Linked DNA regions of Homo sapiens: regions 1 and 3 are each linked to region 2. The links are contacts of gene promoters, found by promoter capture Hi-C in human tissues and cell types (Jung and others, 2019). All regions are on one chromosome and are shown on one strand. The core of a region is centred on a gene start or on the middle of the fragment in contact, and the rest is flanking DNA. Distances in the headings are between cores, read along the strand shown. Region 1 overlaps GYS1 (glycogen synthase 1). Region 2 holds the start of HSD17B14 (hydroxysteroid 17-beta dehydrogenase 14). Region 3 overlaps RUVBL2 (RuvB like AAA ATPase 2).

Region 1 (3,543 bases), core at 492-2,991, 150 kb before region 2:
TAGACTGGGGACAGAAGAGAGGCCACCAGATGTTTCAGAAAGCCAGTCCTAGAAGGAGAGAGAAGCATGGAATATCGGGGAAGAGAGGAGAGGTCAGTGGACAGACCCACAGGACAGAGTCTGAGATGGGCAGATCAGGGATTAGAGAGGAGGGGGAGTTCCAGGGCCCCAGGGTGAAGACGGAAAGAGACACGCTGTTGTCCAAGGAGAAAGCCATCAGGCGGCACGCTGTTGTCCAAGGAGAAAGCCATCAGGCGGCAGGGCTAAGGGACAGACAGGTCCAGGCTGGGGATGGAGAGGCACTGTGGTTCCTTTACTCATTCACAGCCTCTGGTTTGGGGTGGGGTCTGGAATCCATTCAGGTCCGACTGTGTCCCTAAGGGAACCCAGAACAGCCCAGTCGCTTCCTGAGGGCAGCTGCTTCCCACGTGCTGGGGGCCTAAGAATAGCCCCCCCCCCCCCCCAGCAAAAGGGCAGACAACAGCTGGGAGGGGGAGGGACCTCAGAGCGAGGCTCCAGGCAGCAAAAAGCCAGGTCGGCGAGGAGCGGGGCTGCTTCTCCACTGCTGTGGCAGCAGGCCCAGAACCAAAGCCATGGTCTCAGGGAGGAAAACAGCCAACTGGAGAAATGTGGCAGAGGCAGAAGTGAGACAGCAAGTCTTAGAAACACGGCAGTGGCTAGAAAAATGCAGCCCTGGGGCACGGACAGAGGATGGGCTATGTTAGAAATGTGTGGCGTGGCCGAGGGCGGTGGCTCATGCCTGGAATCCCAGCACTTTGGGAGGCCGAGGTGAGAGGATAGCTTGAGCCCAGGAGTTCCTGACCCACCTGGGCAACATGGCGAAACTCTGTCTCTACTAAAAATACAAAAAATTAGCCAGGCATGATGGTGCGTGCTCGTGATCCCAGTTACTCAGGAGGCTGAGGTGGGAGGATGGGATGTGGAGGCTGTAGTGAGCCATAATTTTTTTTTTTTTTTTTTCAGATAGAATCTCACTCTGTCGCTGAGTCTGGAGTGCAGTGGTACAATCTCGACTCACTGCAACCTCCGCCTCCCGCGTTCAAGCAATTCTCCTGCCTCGGCCTCCCAAGTAGCTGGGACCTCAGGCACATGCTGCCACGCCCGGCTAATTTTTTGTATTTTAGTAGAGACAGGGTTTCACCATGTTGCCCAGGCTGGTCTCAAACTCCTGAGCTCAGGCAATCCGCCCGCCTCGGCCCCCCAAAGAGCTAGGATTACAGGCGTGAGCCACCGCGCCCAGCCCAGTGAGCCATGATTGCACCACTGCACTCCAGCCTGGGTGACCGGAGTGAGACCCTGTCAAAAACAAAAACAAACAAAAAAAAATGGAAGAAAGAAAGAAAAAGGAGAGAGGGAGGGAAGGAGGGAGAGAGGGAAGGAAGGAAGGAAGGAAGCAAGGAAGGAAGGAAGGAGGCTGTGGACTACAAAATGGGCCTATGGATAGAGGAAAGAGGTCGCAGGTGACAGATATGTGATGAAAGGAACAGAAACAAGGCATCATGGGGAAGAAAAGTGGCAGCATGAACAGTAAGAGAATCATTACAGGCTGGGTGCAGTAGCTCACGCCTGTAATCCCAGCACTTTGGTAGGCTGAGGCCAGGAGTTTGAGACCAGCCTGGGCAACATGGTGAAACCCTGTCCTTACAAAAAAGTTAAAAATTAGCCGGGATGTGATACCTTGTGCCTGTGGTCCCAGCTACGTGGGAAGCTGCGGTGGAAGGATTGCTTGAGCCTGGGAGATCGAAGCTTCAGTGAACCGTAATTGCACCACTCCCTTCCAGGCTGGAGGACAGAGCAAGACCCCGTCTCTGAAAATAAAAAAGGGCCTGCTTTAGGTGGCTCACACTTCTAATCTCAACACTTTGGGAGGCTAAGCAAGAAAACTGCTTGAACGCAGGAGTTCACGATCAGCCTGGGCAACATAGTGAGACCCCATCTCCACAAAAAATTAAAAAATCAGCCTGGCATGGTGGCCCACGCCTGTAGGAGGTGAGGTGGGAGGATTGACTGAGCCAGGGAGGTTGAGGCTATAGTGAACCATGTTCACACCACTGCACTCCAGCCTGGGCAACAGAGCGAGACCCTGTCTGAAAACAAAAAAGAAGCATCCCGTGGAAGGAATTAGCATCAGAAAGAAAAGACAGTGGGAGATGCAGATGGTTGGTAAGAGAAATGTGGCAGCAAGTACAGAAACAAGGCAGCAGGTAGGGGAAATGATTTGCAGAGTGGCCAGACAGGGCAGTGGGGGCATAGACACAGGACATGTGACATATGTGGTTATAAGCAGAGAAAGGAGGCAGCGAGTGGGAGAAGGGTAGCAGTTACAGGAATTAAACAGGAGGCTGGGTGCGGTGGCTCACGCCTGTAATCCCAGCACTTTGGGACGCCGAGGCGGGCGGATCACAAGGTCGGGAAATGGAGATCATCCTGGCTAACACAGTGAAACCTCGTCTCTACTGAAAATACAAAAAAAAGTAGCCGGGCGTGGTGGCGGGCCGCTGTAGTCCCAGCTACTCGGGAGGCTGAGGCAGGAGAATGGTGTGAACCCAGGAGGCAGAGGTTGCAGTGAGCCGAGATCATGCCACGGCACTCCAGCCTGGGCAACAGAGCCAGACTCCGTCTCAAGAAAAAAAAAAAATTAGCCAGGTGTGGGAGCGGGTGCCTGTAATCCCAGCTACTTGGGAGGCTGAGGCAGGAGAATTGCTTGAACCCGGGAGACAGAGGTTGCAGTGAGCTGAGATCGCACCACTGCACTCCAGCCTGGGCCACAGAGTGAGACTCCATCTCAAAAAAAAGAAAGAAAGAAAGTAAGCAGGGGGCACGGAAAATATTGCAACAGAGATGGAAAAAATGTGTAGCAGGAATAAATCATGCAAATAGAGAAGTAAGGCTAAGGCAGCAGGTGAGAAATTAGCAGCAGATATGGAAACAGAAGATAAGAGAGCTGAGGCTTAAGTCTATAGACATCTGCCTGCAAATGGGAGAACCACGGATGAGTGAAGATATGAGGCTGAAGCCCAGAGCCTCCCTATGGTGCCTCCCCAACCCCATCCCAGGTGTATTTCGGGCGCTGGCTGATCGAGGGAGGCCCTCTGGTGGTGCTCCTGGACGTGGGTGCCTCAGCTTGGGCCCTGGAGCGCTGGAAGGGAGAGCTCTGGGATACCTGCAACATCGGAGTGCCGTGGTACGACCGCGAGGCCAACGACGCTGTCCTCTTTGGCTTTCTGACCACCTGGTTCCTGGGTGAGGTAGGCCCCGTCTGACACATTCCACCCATACCTGAAACTACAATGACCATCAGCCCCTGGGCCAGAGGATGGGCTTCTCCCTGGGCATTCTGGGAGTCATAGGGTCCTTTAATCCAAGGATTAGCTCTGGCCTTTGAGGACATGAACATCCAAGGGCCCAGGCTCTACTCTCGATGCCAACTTCATTTACTCTAGTCTTCCAAGCATAGGGATTCTTGGAATCAGCCTCAAAGTGAGGCTGGCGGGCTTGCCCGAGGAATTCTAGGAGTTGTAG
Region 2 (3,538 bases), core at 169-2,668:
ATCTTGGTGAGTAAAGAGTTGGGCAGGGTTTGGGAGTTTTAGGTCTCAGGCAAGAGGTGACTGGGGTCCGGGACACTTGGGAGGAGGGGAGGAAGAGGTCAGGGGGCGGGGAGAGGGCCGACAACTGAGTCTCAAAGAGGACTGGACTGGCGTATCCAGACTCCTGGATCTGAGGGAGGAGGGGCTGGGGGCCTGGACTCCTGGGTCTGAGGGAGGAGGGGCTGGGGGCCTGGACTCCTGGGTCTGATGGAGGAGGGGCTGGGAATCCGGAGTCCTGGGTCTGAGGGAGGAGGGGCTGGGAATCCGGGGTCCTAGCGCTGAGGTTTGCCATTCTCATGTCCCACTCATCCTCTCCAGGTGGAAATTTGGACTCCCAGGGAGACCCTCTTCCCGGTGTGCCGCTGCCTCCTTCGGACCCCACGCGCCAGGAGACCCCTCCCCCCAGATCTCCCCCGGTGGCTAATTCGGGTTCCACGGGGTTCTCTCGCCGAGGGAGTGGGCGTGGAGGAGGTCCCACCCCCTGGGGGCCCGCGTGGGATGCCGGGATCGCCCCTCCGGTCCTGCCACAAGACGAGGGGGCATGGCCTCTGCGAGTCACTCTGCTACAATCCAGCTTCTAATCCGCCCAAAAGCGGCAGCCAATCGGAGCGCGAGGACGTGGTCTGGAGGTACCGCCGGAGATCTGGGACCACTCAGGGCATCAGGGGGCGTGGTCTGGTCCCCATTGCGGGCCCGGGAGGGGAATGGTTTCTATGGCCAAAGTTTGGTTTTCTCAACACTGTCTAAATTTGGATTAAAACTTTGAACTTTTAGTCAATAGCTTTCTTTCTGTCTGTCTGGGGTTGTGGCACTGGTGTCTCTGAGGGGCAGAGCTGGAGTCGTGGACTCCTGGGTCCTGAGAGAGGAAGGGACAGGGGGCTTGGACTTATAGGTCTCTGGGAAGAAGGGATAGAGAACCTGATCCCTCGGTCTGAGAGTGGAGGGGGCTGGGCCAGGATTCCCGGGTCTGAGGGAGGAAGGGGTGGGACCCTGACTCCTGGGTCTGAGGGAGGAGGGACTGGGAGGCTGGACTCCCGGGTCTGAGGGAGGAGGGGCTGGGACCCTGACTCCTGGGTCTGAGGGAGGAGGGGCTGGGAGGCTGGACTCCCGGGTCTGAGGGAGGAGGGGCTGGGAGGCTGGACTCCCGAGTCTGAGGGAGGAGGGGCTGGGGGCCTGGACTCCCGAGTCTGAGGGAGGAGGGACTGAGGCTTCTGGATTCCTGGGTCTGTGGGAGGAGGGACTGGGGCTCCTGGATTCCTGGGTCTGTGGGAAGAGAGGAGTGTCTGAGGGAGGAGGGGCTGGGGACAAACTTCCAGGTCTCTAGCCTTCCTGGCAACGCCCCCCGAGGCCGGACTTCCAGGATCCAGCCTCTATTGAGGATTTGATGCGACGGCCTCACGGGGCTTTGGAGGTGAAAGAGGCCCAGAGTAGAGAGAGAGAGAGACCGACGTACACGGGATGGCTACGGGAACGCGCTATGCCGGGAAGGTGGTGGTCGTGACCGGGGGCGGGCGCGGCATCGGAGCTGGGATCGTGCGCGCCTTCGGTGAGCCGGGTCTGACTGCTGGGAGCTGTGGAGTGTGAGAAAGGAAGGATGGGGGCGGGGTGATGGGGGCGGAAAATAGGGACTCCAGTACTGCAGCCAGGATTCTGATATTATAAAAGCCAATTTGCAGGCTAAAGTAAGCGTGTGGCGCTGTAGGCTAGGGCTGAGTCTGGCAGGGTCTCCGAAGGCAGTGGCCCCTTTCTCTGGGTCTGTTGGTGTAGCTACAAAACCAGTGGTTTGAGGAATGGCTCTGTCAGTCGTGGAGTTTGCTCCGGAAGCCACGAACGGGGGTTCAGGAGCCTCAGCAGAAACAAGGCAAGGAGAGTATGTGTCAAGGCGTCTGCCCTCTGTCCTATGGGTGATCATGAGACTGGGGTCACGAGGGGAGAGGGAGATCAGCCCCAATCCAGGTGGCCACAAGAGGGCGGCAGAGGCTTTAACCAAGGCTCGGAGAGTAACCTGTTCCCTTCCTATTCTCAGTGAACAGCGGGGCCCGAGTGGTTATCTGCGACAAGGATGGTGAGTGACGGTCCCTCAGCCCTCACCTTGGCCCTTCCTCCCTCAGACCCAGAGGTCCAGACCCCTAGCACCTCCTCCCTCAGACCCCGGAGTCCAGGCCCCCAGGCCCTACTTCCTCAGACCCAGGAGTCCAGACCTCAGCCCCTCCTCCCTCAGACCTAGGAGTCCAGGCCCCCAGCCCCTCTGCCCTCAGACCCAGGAGTCCAGGTCCCCAGCCCCTCCTCCCTCAGACCCAGAAGTCCAGGCTCCGGCACCTCCTCCCTCAGACCCAGGAATCCAAGTCCCCAACCCCTCCTCCTTCAGACCCAGGGGTCCAGGCTCCCAGCCCCTCTTCCCTCAGACCCAGGAGTCCAGGCTCTGGCACCTCCTCCCTCAGACCCAGGAGTCCAGGCCCCCAGGCCCTACTTTCTCAGACCCAGGAGTCCAGACCTCAGCCCCTCCTCCCTCAGACCCAGGAGTCCAGGCTCCCAGCCCCTCCTCCCTCAGACCCAGGAGTCCAGGCCCCCATCCCCTCCTCCCTCAGACCCAGGAGTCCAGGCCCCCAGCCCCTCCTCCCTCAGACCCAGGAGTCCAGGCTCCCAGCACCTCCTCCCTCAGACCCAGGAGTCCAGGCCCCCAGGCCCTACTTCCTCGGACCCAGGAGTCCAGACCTCAGCCCCTCCTCCCTCAGACCCAGGAGTCCAGGCCCCCAGCCCCTCCTCCCTCAGACCCAGGAGTCCAGGCTCCCAGCACCTCCTCCCTCAGACCCAGGAGTCCAGGCCCCCAGGCCCTACTTCCTCGGACCCAGGAGTCCAGACCTCAGCCCCTCCTCCCTCAGACCCAGGAGTCCAGGCCCCCAGCCCCTCCTCCCTCAGACCCAGGAGTCCAGGCTCCCAGCCCTTCCTCCCTCAGACCCAGGAGTCCAGGCCCCCAGGCCCTACTTCCTCGGACCCAGGAGTCCAGACCTCAGCCCCTCCTCCCTCAGACCCAGGAGTCCAGGCCCCCAGCCCCTCCTCCCTCAGACCCAGGAGTCCAGGCTCCCAGCCCCTCCTCCCTCAGACCCAGGAGTCCAGGCTCCCAGCCCCTCCTCCCTCAGACCCAGGAGTCCAGGCTCCCAGCCCTTCCTCCCTCAGACCCAGGAGTCCAGGCCCCCAGGCCCTACTTCCTCGGACCCAGGAGTCCAGGCTCCCAGCCCTTCCTCCCTCAGACCCAGGAGTCCAGGCCCCCAGGCCCTACTTCCTCGGACCCAGGAGTCCAGGCTCCCAGCCCTTCCTCCCTCAGACCCAGGAGTCCAGGCCCCCAGGCCCTACTTCCTCAGACCCAGGAGTCCAGACCTCAGCCCCTCCTCCCTCAGACCCAGGAGTCCAGGCCCCCAGCACCTCCTCCCTCAGACCCAGGAGTCCAAGTCCCCAACCCCTCCTCCCTGAGACCCAGGGGTCCAGGCTCCCAGCTCTT
Region 3 (3,158 bases), core at 614-3,113, 170 kb before region 2:
GGGTAACAGGAAGATCCAGACCCCATGGGTCAAGGGGGTGATGGAGGAGATGAAAACACCCCAGTGCTGGGGGCGAGGGGATCCCGGGAGTCCCGGCCGCACCTGGGAGCCCATAGCGTCGTAGTCGCGGGCGCGTGTGAAGGAGCGGCCCAGCTTGGAGATCTTGCCCGTCGCCTTGTCGATGGTGATCACGTCCCTACAGGGGGATGGGGGGTAGGGTAAGGAAAGGAATGGGCCCAAGCTCGCCCATCCCCCTGGCTGCCTGGCATGGCCCCTGACTGCTCACCCGGCCTGGACCTTGTCCTTGGTCAGGGACTCAATCATCTTGGTGCCCAGGTCGTAGATGGTCTCCATCTCTGTGGTCTTGAGGGTCAGTTTGCCCACCTTGGAGCCCTGAGAGTGGGGACAAGCCAGGGATGGGGCTCAGAGAGGGCCCTGATGTTGCCCCAGTGCCCCCAGTGTTGATAAGCTTCTGGCTCTGCTCTGGCCTCTGCTTCCACAGCTTCAAAATGGGCACAACACAAGGAAGCTCTCCAGGGAAGACATACGGTGCGCTCACCAGCCTGACGCGGTGATGGCTCCGCGGCTGAACATGTATGTCCCAACGGACCATACTGGACACTTGCAATGTGTACAGCTTTCTGTATGTCAATTAAAACTCAATAAAGTTCTTTTTTTTTTTGAGACGGAGTCTTGCTCTGTCGCCCACGCTGGAGTGTAGTAGCATGATCTCGGCTCACTGCAAGCTCTGCCTCCCGGGTTCACGCCATTCTCCTGCCTCAGCCTCCCGAGTAGCTGGGACTACAGGCGCCCGCCACCACGCATGGCTAATTTTTGTATTTTTAGTAGAGATGGGGTTTCACTGTGATAGCCAGGATGGTCTCGATCTCCTGACCTTGTGATCTGCCCACCTCGGCCTCCCAAAGTGCTGGGATTACAGGAGTGAGCTACTGCGCCTGGTGAATAAAGCTCTTTTTTTTTTTTTTTTTTTTTTTTTTTTTTTTTTTTGAGATAGAGTCTTGCTCTGTCGCCCAGGCTGGAGTGCAGTGGTGTGATCTCAGCTCACTCCAACCTCCATCTCCCGGGTTCAAGTAGTTCTCCTGCCTCAGCCTCCCAAGTAGCTGGGATTACAGATGTGTGCCACCATACCCAGCTAATTGTTTTGTGTTTTTATTATTTATTTATTTTTGAGATGGAGTTTCGCTCTTGTTGCCCAGGCTGGAGTGCAATGGTGTGATCTCGGCTTACTGCAACTTCTGCCTCCCAGATTCAAGCGATTCTCCTGCCTTAGCCTCCCAAGTAGCTGGGATTACAAGCACCCACCACCACGCCCAGCTAATTTTTTGTATTTTTAGTAGAGACAGGGTTTCACCATGTTGGTCAGGCTGGTCTTGAACTCCTGACTTCAGGTGATCCACCCGCCTCGGCCTCCCAAAGTGCTGGGATTATAGGCATGAACCACCGCGCCCAGCCATTTTGTATTTTTAGTATAGACAGGGTTTCACCATGTTAGTCAGGCTCGTTTCGAACTCCTGATCTCAAGTGATCGCCCACCTCAGCCTCCCAAAGTGCTGGGATTACAGGTGTGAGCCACTGCGCCTGGCCAAAACTCAATAAAGCTCTTAATAAAAATAGTAAACAGGCAGGGTGCAGTGGCTCACACCTGTAATCCCAGCACTTTGGGAGGCCGAGGCGGGCAGATCACAAGGTCAGGAGATCGAGACCACAGTGAAACCCCGTCTCTACTAAAAATACAAAAAATTAGCCGGGCGTGGTGGCAGGTGCCTGTAGTCCCAGCTACTCGGGAGGCTGAGGCAGGAGAATGGCATGAACCCGGGAGGCAGAGCTTGCCGTGAGCTGAGATTGTGCCACTGCACTCCAGCCTGGGCAACAGAGCAAGACTCCATCTCAAAAAAAAAATTATAATAAAATAAAATAAAAATAAAAAATAAAAATAGTAAACAAACAACATGCCTAAAAAATAAAGTCTATCAAAAACAACATAGGCCCGAGGTCTCGCAAAATTGCCAAATGTCACACTTTGACATTCCTATTTTATACCCAAATAAAAAGTGTTTTTGTTGATCACAAAATCAGAAAACACAGCTATGCAAAAAGGAGAAAACAGAAATTGTAAAAAAAAAAAAAAAAAAAAAAAAAGAGGCCAGGTATGGTGGCTCACGGCTGTAATCCCAGCACTTTGGGAGGCCAAGGTGGGCAGATCACGAGGTCAGGAGTTCAAGACCAGCCTGGCCAACATGGTGAAACCCCGTCTCTACTGAAAGTACAAAAATTAGCCGGGCGTGGTGGCATGCACACACCTGTAATCTCAGCTACTCGGAAGGCTGAGGCAGAAGAATCACTTGAACCTGGGAGGCAGAGGTTGCAGTGAGCCGAGATTGCACCACTGCATTCCAGTCTGGGGGACAGAGGGAGACTCTGTCTCGAAAACAAAAAAAAAAGAGAGAGCAAATCACCTGTATCATGTAAGATGGACAGGACATGCCTTTCGGCCACGGAACGAGTTTTGAAGTCTGTTGGGTTTTGAGGTCTGTTGGGAACTCACTAACAGATCTCTCTCATTATTTTACCGCCTCAGTTTCTATTGCCCATAATGTCCTTCATAAGGGGATAAGCCATTGTCAAGTTAACTGACCTCCTACTGTAGGCATGTACATGGCTCTAGTCTGCAGCTAGAACATTCCATGGGATTCTGACCTCAGTGCAGACCTGATATCTACTCTCTCCAACCCTGGCGCTGGAGGTGGCCTCAGCAGGGTACAGACTCACACAGACTCACCGTCCCTGTTGCTGGTCGATCAATCTGGATCTCCACCACCTCCCCTTCGATGATCTCCGTCTCCTCCCTAGCCAGAGAGCAGATCTGAGGAGACAGCCTGACACCTGGACCCTCGGGAATCACAACCTTCCATGAGCTCTGGGACAAAGGACGAGCCGCCCGGGGTGCGGGGTTGCTCCCAGGCTCTGGGGTCTGGCACCCGCCTCGGGTCCCCCGCTTACTTGATGCGAACGCCGATGGACCGCCGGAAGGCCTGCGTCAGCGCCTCGGTCTTGCTCATCTCCAGGGAGAAGATTTCACTGCCGGCGATGGCTGTGAATGGCGTGTCAGGGCCCAGGGCCTGCGCCATGCCTGGGAA

The links. The method cuts DNA at HindIII sites, captures the fragments that hold promoters and counts their contacts. A contact is called where the count stands out against the background at its distance.
Region 1: a contact is called between a fragment that was not itself captured here and the fragment with the promoter of HSD17B14 in region 2, in 5 of the 25 tissues and cell types used here (bladder, dorsolateral prefrontal cortex, liver and 2 more).
Region 3: a contact is called between a fragment that was not itself captured here and the fragment with the promoter of HSD17B14 in region 2, in 1 of the 25 tissues and cell types used here (psoas muscle).

Annotation. Positions count from the first base shown.
Region 1 is chr19:48,986,920-48,990,462 of GRCh38, reverse strand. GYS1 (glycogen synthase 1) reads left to right here. Exons shown (of 16, transcript NM_002103.5): 3 at 3,078-3,269. Among named protein-coding and RNA genes, the nearest start is that of GYS1, 4.6 kb to the left of the region's middle. RefSeq lists an enhancer at 307-698 and a silencer at 1,829-2,011. The HindIII fragment of the contact is 7,422 bases long and covers 1-3,543 here.
Region 2 is chr19:48,834,371-48,837,908 of GRCh38, reverse strand. HSD17B14 (hydroxysteroid 17-beta dehydrogenase 14) reads left to right here and starts at 1,418. Exons shown (of 9, transcript NM_016246.3): 1 at 1,418-1,585; 2 at 2,066-2,104. The coding sequence starts at 1,498. It overlaps PLEKHA4 (pleckstrin homology domain containing A4), which reads left to right. Exons shown (of 20, transcript NM_020904.3): 20 at 358-812. The coding sequence ends at 620. RefSeq lists a silencer at 441-510. The HindIII fragment of the contact is 14,395 bases long and covers 1-3,538 here.
Region 3 is chr19:49,007,011-49,010,168 of GRCh38, reverse strand. RUVBL2 (RuvB like AAA ATPase 2) reads right to left here. Exons shown (of 15, transcript NM_006666.3): 5 at 3,022-3,151; 6 at 2,801-2,867; 7 at 287-393; 8 at 103-196. It overlaps MIR6798 (microRNA 6798), which reads right to left and starts at 263; the gene lies at 197-263. RefSeq lists an enhancer at 228-729. The HindIII fragment of the contact is 7,286 bases long and covers 1-3,158 here.